2 separate regions of the Homo sapiens genome follow, and region 1 is linked to region 2. Evidence: promoter capture Hi-C in 16 types of primary human blood cells and fetal thymus (Javierre and others, 2016). All regions are on one chromosome and are shown on one strand. Each heading gives the region's core, a stretch centred on a gene start or on the middle of the fragment in contact. The rest is flanking DNA. Distances are from core to core; before and after follow the strand shown. Region 1 overlaps DUS2 (dihydrouridine synthase 2). Region 2 holds the start of CTCF (CCCTC-binding factor).

What was found. The method cuts DNA at HindIII sites, captures the fragments that hold promoters and counts their contacts. A CHiCAGO score of 5 or more calls a contact.
Region 1: a contact is called between a fragment that was not itself captured here and the fragment with the promoter of CTCF in region 2, in 2 of 17 cell types (naive B cells and total B cells). The highest score is 6.5, in naive B cells.

The regions. Positions count from the first base shown.
Region 1 is chr16:68,072,417-68,076,184 of GRCh38, reverse strand. It overlaps DUS2 (dihydrouridine synthase 2), which reads right to left. Exons shown (of 17, transcript NM_017803.5): 13 at 2,030-2,151; 14 at 681-830. Among named protein-coding and RNA genes, the nearest start is that of NFATC3, 11 kb to the left of the region's middle. RefSeq lists an enhancer at 754-863. The HindIII fragment of the contact is 1,112 bases long and covers 1,864-2,975 here.
Region 2 is chr16:67,560,496-67,564,037 of GRCh38, reverse strand. CTCF (CCCTC-binding factor) reads right to left here and starts at 1,512. Exons shown (of 12, transcript NM_006565.4): 1 at 1,314-1,512. It overlaps CTCF-DT (CTCF divergent transcript), which reads left to right and starts at 1,729. Exons shown (of 1, transcript NR_158165.1): 1 at 1,729-2,627. LOC124903703 (a long non-coding RNA gene) reads left to right here and starts at 588. Exons shown (of 2, transcript XR_007065094.1): 1 at 588-743. RefSeq lists silencers at 441-540, 1,061-2,070 and enhancers at 294-1,156, 2,301-2,350, 2,371-2,420. The HindIII fragment of the contact is 5,949 bases long and covers 1-3,542 here.

The DNA.
Region 1 (3,768 bases), core at 1,170-3,669, 510 kb before region 2:
GACACTTGGAATCTGGTTTCAGAGTCAGCCTGTGACAGGGTGACACAGTGACAGGGTGGGAGGGGTCATATTCCAACTTCCCAACTGGAACTCTCCCTGGCATCTGACTGCCCAACAGCTATTCCCCACCACCCTGCTCCCCCTCTCCACACCTCTGCCAGACAAGACTGGCTCCTGTCTGGTCCTGGGGACTGGAGAAAGGCTCAGATCCCAGAGGAGGGCACCATTCAAAGCTGAGTCACAATCTGAGGCGTAAGCAGCTTGAGAGAGCACCACAGAGCTGGTGAGGGGCACTGGGTGTGGGTAGGGGCTGCAGAGCCAAATGAGGGCTAGGGTCCTGCTGTTGTTTGAGGAGCTTCATGCCAGGAGCCAGTTCCTCAGGGCCTTGGAAAAGCACAGACTTTCAGGAACAGGAGACAAGTCCCCCCTGCCCTGAGTTGTGGGAGGCGGTAAATCAGGGAAAAAGTAGAGTTCAGTTATCCTTGGGACAGCCTTTCAGGGACTATCTCCCCTGAAAGCACCTTCTATGGGATGCTGAAAATTTAGAACGAGTTTCCAAACCAACAAGACCTGTGGTCCCTACGTTTGACATTAAGCACATACAGCAGCCAGTGTGCTGGCCCAGTGGGACCCCAAGGGTGCTGGCCCTAGCCCAAGCTGAGGCCAAGCTGGAGACCTACCGGTCAAACTTGACAGCCATCTTAATGACACCAGAGGTATCTTCAGCTGGCTCCCCTGTCTGCTCTGAAGTCTTGGCTGAGAGCCTGGCCTGCTGGGCATCCAGCTCCTGTGTGGTCTCCTCATAGAAGGCACCAAGGCCAAAGGCCTCACTAGGGAGGAAGAAGCAGATCAGAGCAAACACTTTAGCGGAGCCAGCATCCAGGGTACTGCAGGACCCCAGGGCCCCACCACTGAGAAACTCCTCTACCACATACACCAAAACACCACCGGGGCCTGGCCATCAGAATGTGCCCCCTGCCCAGCCCTGGGATTACTGTGGACTGGAAGATGGAAAGTGAATGTGAACCCAAGCGTGGACACTGGAGGGAGGCTGGGCTGGGTGGCAAAGGTTGTAAAGGTCACCCCCACCACCTGCAGCCTCTCTCCTGAGGGGAAGCACACAGATGGTATCCCCAGCCAGCCGTGACTGAGTTAACCAATGCTGATCAAGCACATGGGCCCATGGGAGGAAGAGACAGAGGCCTGACCACTAAGTGGTTCCCCACTTCCCGCCCAGCCACAGGCAGTTATACATGGGTCTCAGCTGACACTGAGGCACCACCCAGAGCTACAGAGTTATGTGGGGTAGGGACTGAACCAATGCCATAAGCCAAGGGTGGGAAGAGGGCTCTGGCAAAGGTTTTTCCCTTCTAGGAAACATCTTGAAGGCTGGAAGACTCAAACGAAGATAGATCCCCAATGGCAAAAGTGGTTCAGAAAGGCATCTATGTAAGAGGGAGGCTACAGATAGCTCACGTGAGAGGGAGAGAGCCTTCCAGGCAGACGACCCATTACAAGCACAGGTGTGGAGTTCTGGAAGCAGACAGGTAGACAGGGAGCTGTGGGGGCAGTGGCTAGGCCAGCTTGTGAAGGGCCTCAACTGTCAACCATCTGAGCTAGAGCTGCACCTGATCTAGAGAATCAACAGGTGGTCTCTCAAACTGCAGGGTGATGGATGTGAGTGCAGGCTCAAGGTAGAGGCTCCATGCTACAGCCCAATTCTCCTGACCACTGGTTCCTGGGGGCCTGGCCTGTGACTATCCCATTTATGGAAAATCCCCTTCCTTTGCATTCCTCTATCCTTCTAGTACCCTAGTTCCCAGAGCTCTGCTGATCCGTCCAGGGATGGGACGTTTCAAAGCTTTCAAAGAATCCCCTCCTGGGAGGCAAAGCTGTACCATCACTCCACTCCTCTACATCTACATCCAGAAGCTGTGTCCCTGGTCCCCTGGTGGAGTCAGCTTAGGGCTCAAAGTCAAACTTGGGCAATGCGTACAAGGACAGATGGACATCTTATTGTGCCTCTTACCAAATTTCCCGGGAAGACTGGGCAGCATGGAGCAACCTTCCCTGGGGCGACTCCAGCTGTTCTCGTAGCATCTGGCACAAGCAGTACTTGGTGTTGGTGTAGTGGTTGTCATACTGCACCGCCTGAGAAAAGAAATGACTTGCCTGATGCCCAGGCAGGCTCTAAGGCCTGGGCTATGCTCTGATGGCAGGGAAAGGAGCTCCAAGAAGGCACCAGAGATGTATGTGTAGCCAAGGCAATGTGACCCCCATAAGAAGAACCACCACTGGCCAGGAGCAGTGGCTCACATCTGTAATCCCAGCACTCTGAGAGGCCAATGCAGGAGGACTGCTTGAGGCTAGGAGTTCAAGAGCAGCCTGGGCAACGTAAGACTCAACTCTACAAAAATTAAAAAAAAGAAAATTATCGGCTGGGCACGGTGGCTCACGCCTGTAATCACAGCACCTTGGGAGGCCAAGGCGGGCGGATCACCTGAGGTCAGGAGTTCAAGACCAGCCTGACCAACATGGTGAAGCCCCGTCTCTACTAAAAATACAAAATTAGCTGGGCGTGGTGGCGGGTGCCTGTAATCCCAGCTACTCGGGAGGCTGAGGCAAGAGAATCGCTTGAACCCTGGAGGCGAAGGTTGCGGTGAGCCAAGATCGTGCCACTGCACTCCAGCCTGGGCGACAACAGCAAAACTCTGTCTCAAAAAAAAAAAAAAAAAGAAAAAGAAAATTAGCCAGGCATGTTGGCACACACCTGTAGCCATAGCTACTAGGGAGGCTAAGGCAAGAGGATTGCTTGCACCCAGGAGTTGTGGCTGTAGTGAGCTATGATCATGCCACTGCACTCCAGCCTGGGCAACAGACTGAGACCCTATCTAAAATTAAAAATAAAAATAAAAATAAATTAAAAAGCCACTTCGACCTTGGTCATCTACTCTTCCAGCTAGTGGTACAAAGCTTGAGGGTCACAGCCAAGGACCACGGTCAGAAACACATTCTCCTGGACAGCCTGACTGAGGTCTCGAAGTGCGGGAGCCCCTTCCTGCTTCAGCCACCACAGAGGACCTACTGCCAAGTATCTTCCAGGGAAGGGAGGGGAAACACACCAAATTCTGGCATGGCAGGTCCAGTGCCAGGAAAGGGGTGAGATTCTTCTATTCCTTCTAACCAGAATGGGCACCTTCCCTTCCCACATCTTGAATAGCCTCTAACTTCCCCCTACGTGGGTAAAACACAGCATCATTTAGTTCACATGGGTTACTCATGACTACATTTATCTATACAAGTGTGAGGTGCAACTGTCACCATCACTCCACAGACCGTGAAATGAAGGCTCAGGGAGGCAAGATGACTGACTGCCTGGGACACCCAGTGGAAGTCGGCTGGCTAGAGGTAGGGCAGGAGAGCAGTATTGGGTGAAGGTGGCCTTCCCCAGCCCTCCAGGACACCCTCCCATCCCCCACCCCCTATGCTGCTCTAGTAACTCCACGTGGGCCTATGACTTCAGTGGCTGGGAAAGTGCCACGGCACGCTCAGGACAAAGTGGGAAGTAAGTCGGGGCGCCCCGGCTGGTGGCAAGTCCTTGACTCAGCTTGTCTGGGAAGAAGGCACCTGGCTGGACCAGAAGCAGCCCTGCCTATGCTTGAAAGCCGCTCCCTTTCTCTGTGATAGCACACCCTCTTGAGGAGCTGCCAAGAGATGGCTCAGCAGGAATGATAATATCACCTTTCACCCAGTGAGCAAGCTCAGCAC
Region 2 (3,542 bases), core at 263-2,762:
ACAGGAAGTCTCCTACTAAACAGTAGTTACATTAGGCGTAGATATTTATAAACCATCTGCAGCAAGTGACCCAGGATTCAATTACAACATCAACCCTCATATTTCATCGCATGGGCAAATTACCAGTCGAGTCAAGAATAAACTCATTCTGCCCTACTGGCGCTCTAGATCGAGTTGCACAATCCTGGGGCAGAACCGCCTTCACCTAGCCCTAGAGCATCAGGTACTAAGTTAGTGTGAGGACATTTTAAAGCGGGAGGGAAACTCAAGGGACTTAGCCCATACTCCCAAATTCAGAAATTTGTCACGTCACTTGAGATCAGAATGAAATTTAAGTTTCAGTCCCTTTGAGATCTCTGAGCGCACAAAGTCAGGCTGCTATCACTCGGCTGGGGAGTCCGAACCCGGCTGGATAAAAACTACTTGGTGCGGAACTCGCATCTTTTCCGCCCACCGTGGGGGGGCCGCACCGGTCGGGTCCGGCCAGGAACCCGGGCGCGAGTTTGGGGGCGCAGCGGGGGCGGCGAGCGCGCGTCCCCCCGCCCGCTCAGGCAGCGTAGAGGTGCGAGCAGCTCAGCCAGCCTTGCAGAGGGAGCTCTCGGCAGCTCTGGGGTCCCTCTGCTCGCAGCCGCTGCAGCGCCGCCTGCGCCACTCGGCGGAGACGGAGACCAGCGGCGGCGACGCGCGGACTGGGAGCGACCGCCGAGCAGCCAAGCAGCTGGGAAGGCACGCAGGCCGGCAGGGTAGGTTCCGGGGACGGGGCTGGCTGGAGGAGGGGCAGCCCGAGACGCGACGGCCAGGGCCCGACACCCATACGGCACCGGGACCTGGCTTAGCGCGCGGCGGCAGTCGGTCCGAACCCTTAAGCTAGGCGGGCGCCGAAGCCGGGACGCGGAGATAGTGTCTCAGCTGGGGCCACCCGCCGCGGGAGGGGCGGAGGACACAGGACAGAGGGCGGGCCGCGGCCGGGCGATCGGCCGGCCAAGAACCGGCCTCGAGGGCAGACAAAGGAAGGAAAATGGAGTCGCCGGGCGCGCGGGCCTCTGCCTCTGCCGCCGCCCGAGGCCTAGCGCGCTGCCAGGAGGGAGGCCTAGCGGGCGGGCGGGCGGGCGGGCGTGGGGGTGGGGGGGGCGGCCGGGCCACGGCGGCGACGGGCAATGGCGGCGGCCGCGCCGCAGCAGGGACGGTAGAGGGAGACAAACACCCCCCGGCGGCGGCGCTGGCGCCGGGCTGCAGCCAGCGCCGACCGGAGCGGCCCCATCGTGACACCTAGAGGCGGCCCGCGAAACCTCCTCCACCCCGGGCCCCCTTACCTCCGCGCCACACCCCCCGCGGCGCCCGCTCCGCCGCCGCTCCACGGCTCCGGCCACCCGGCGTCTCCGGCGAGCTCCGCGCGTCCGCACCGGCCACCGCCGCCGCCGCTGCCGCCAAAGAAGCAGCTCCGCGCACGGTTTAATCGCTCCACAGGCTCAGACACAAAATGGCGGCGGCGCGGTGCAGTGCGCCTGCGTCGGCGCTGCCGGGGCCGCGGGTGCTGATAAGGGAAGGGACGGGTGGGGGGACCGGCCGGGCGGCGAGTAGAGGGCGGGGGAGGAAAGGTGAGGGGAGGGGTTGGCGCAGGGCAGCATGGGAGGCGGCCCCGGGCGCCAACTTTCAAAAGCGGGCGCGATGGCGTCACGGGACGCGCCGCGAGTCGCGTCGTCACGCCGCACGCGCCCTCGCCGGGTCGCTCGTGGGCTCTGCCGGCGCCGCGGCGTCCTGGCTCCCGCTGGGTGGGGCTTCCTGGGCGGAGGCCGCCGCCCCTGGGCGGTGCCGGATCCAGTCCGCTTGACCTTATTCCCTAGCTGCTGTCTCCGGCCCCCTGAACCCGTACAGGGTTGGGGAAGTGGGGGTGGCTGGAGGAAGCGCGCGCGGGGCAAGCCAGTGGGGCTGAGGAGGCTCCCGGGCCCGGCCCCGCCCAGTCTCCGCCCCAGCCAGGCCCGACCCGCCCTCCGAATGTCTTACAGCTGCCCGCCCCAGAGTAAGGCCCGGTCGGTTCCCGCGCGCTCCCAGCTCCGTGCCCGCGAGCGACGACTGGAAGGGCTGTCCTTGCTCAGCGGCTTTTGGTGATCTCTCCGCCCTAGAAGAGGGCCACCTAAAAGCGGGTGCGAGAGGAGAGTGGGAGGGCCTCCTCTTGGTGTCCCCAGGCCACCTCAGCCCGGAGAGGTGGCGGAAAACCAGACTTGATGCTTTAACACGTTCATAGCAATCGCTTTTTACTGAAAGGAGTTTCTGTATTTAGCGCTGTGTAATTCTGTGGAAACGTGCATTTCTTGTCTTTGCGGGAGAGCTGTTCTCTGTGGGCGGAGACCTTCAGTCCCACCCCTCCCCAGGAGGCGCCTGCGGACCCTTCCCAACCTGCAGTCAAGTTGACCAAGAACTGACTGCAAGGTGCTGGTGGCTCTGGGATGAGAGCCTTTTGGTACTTACAGGGAATATGACTCTTCCCTTAGATATCAAATGGACCCAATATCTAGGGAGCAGCTTCTTCTCCATCCATCTGACCGTTCCGTTGTGAGAATGCTGGCCCAATAACATACTCTTTTTTTTTCCCCTAAAGGAATAAAAAAATCTGTATTTTTAAGATGTCAAATCTCCAGAGTTTTTAGATGTTAGCAACTGAATCAGATGTTTTTAAACTTCATGAGCTGATTAAACCACACAGATGAGCTGTCAGTTTACGACCCCTGGCTTGGCTTGGAGGAAAGAGTGAAGAGAAATTCCATGGCCAAATCCTGGGGCACTCCAATATTGGGAGGGTAATGGAGAAGGAGTCTGAAAGGCAGCATCTAGGAAGTCATGAAAGCTAGCGCTGAGTTGTGGAATCCCTGGGCAGAGAAGGTTTCAGGTAGGAGGCATCAGCTGAGCGGTGTGATAAACTTGGGCCAGAGATGTGGCTATTGGATTGGGTCACCTTGCAAGTCACTGGAGAATGTCACTGATGGCCTTGGCTTGATTCACGTGAGTATATCAGGGAGGTGGACCTGACCGGAATGGGTTAAACAGTCACCAGGAAAGTGAGGAAATGGAGACAGCACATGTATGCAATTTGAGAGAGGTTTTGCTGTGAAGGGACCAGATAAGTTTGGGGATAGATATAGAAAGAAATCTTTTAAAAGATAGTAGGGGCCGGGCGCAGTGGCTCACGCCTGTTATCCTAGCACTTTGGGAGGCCAAGGCAGGTGGATCACCTGAGGTCAGGAGTTCGAGACCAGCCTGGCCAATATGGTGAAACCCGGTCTCTACTAAAAATACAAAAATTAGTTGGGCATGGTATCGCGCGCCTGTAATCCAAGCTACTGGGGAGGCTGAGGCAGGAGAATTGCTTGAACCCGGGAGGCAGAGGTTGCAGAGAGCCAAGATTGGGCCACAGCACTCCAGCCTGGGCAACAAAGCGGGACTCCATCTCAAAAAATAATAATAAATAAAATAAAAGATGGTAGGGTTCCCAGAGCATGTTTATGTGCCATTGGGAGGGATATGGTGGGGAAGAAAGATGGGTG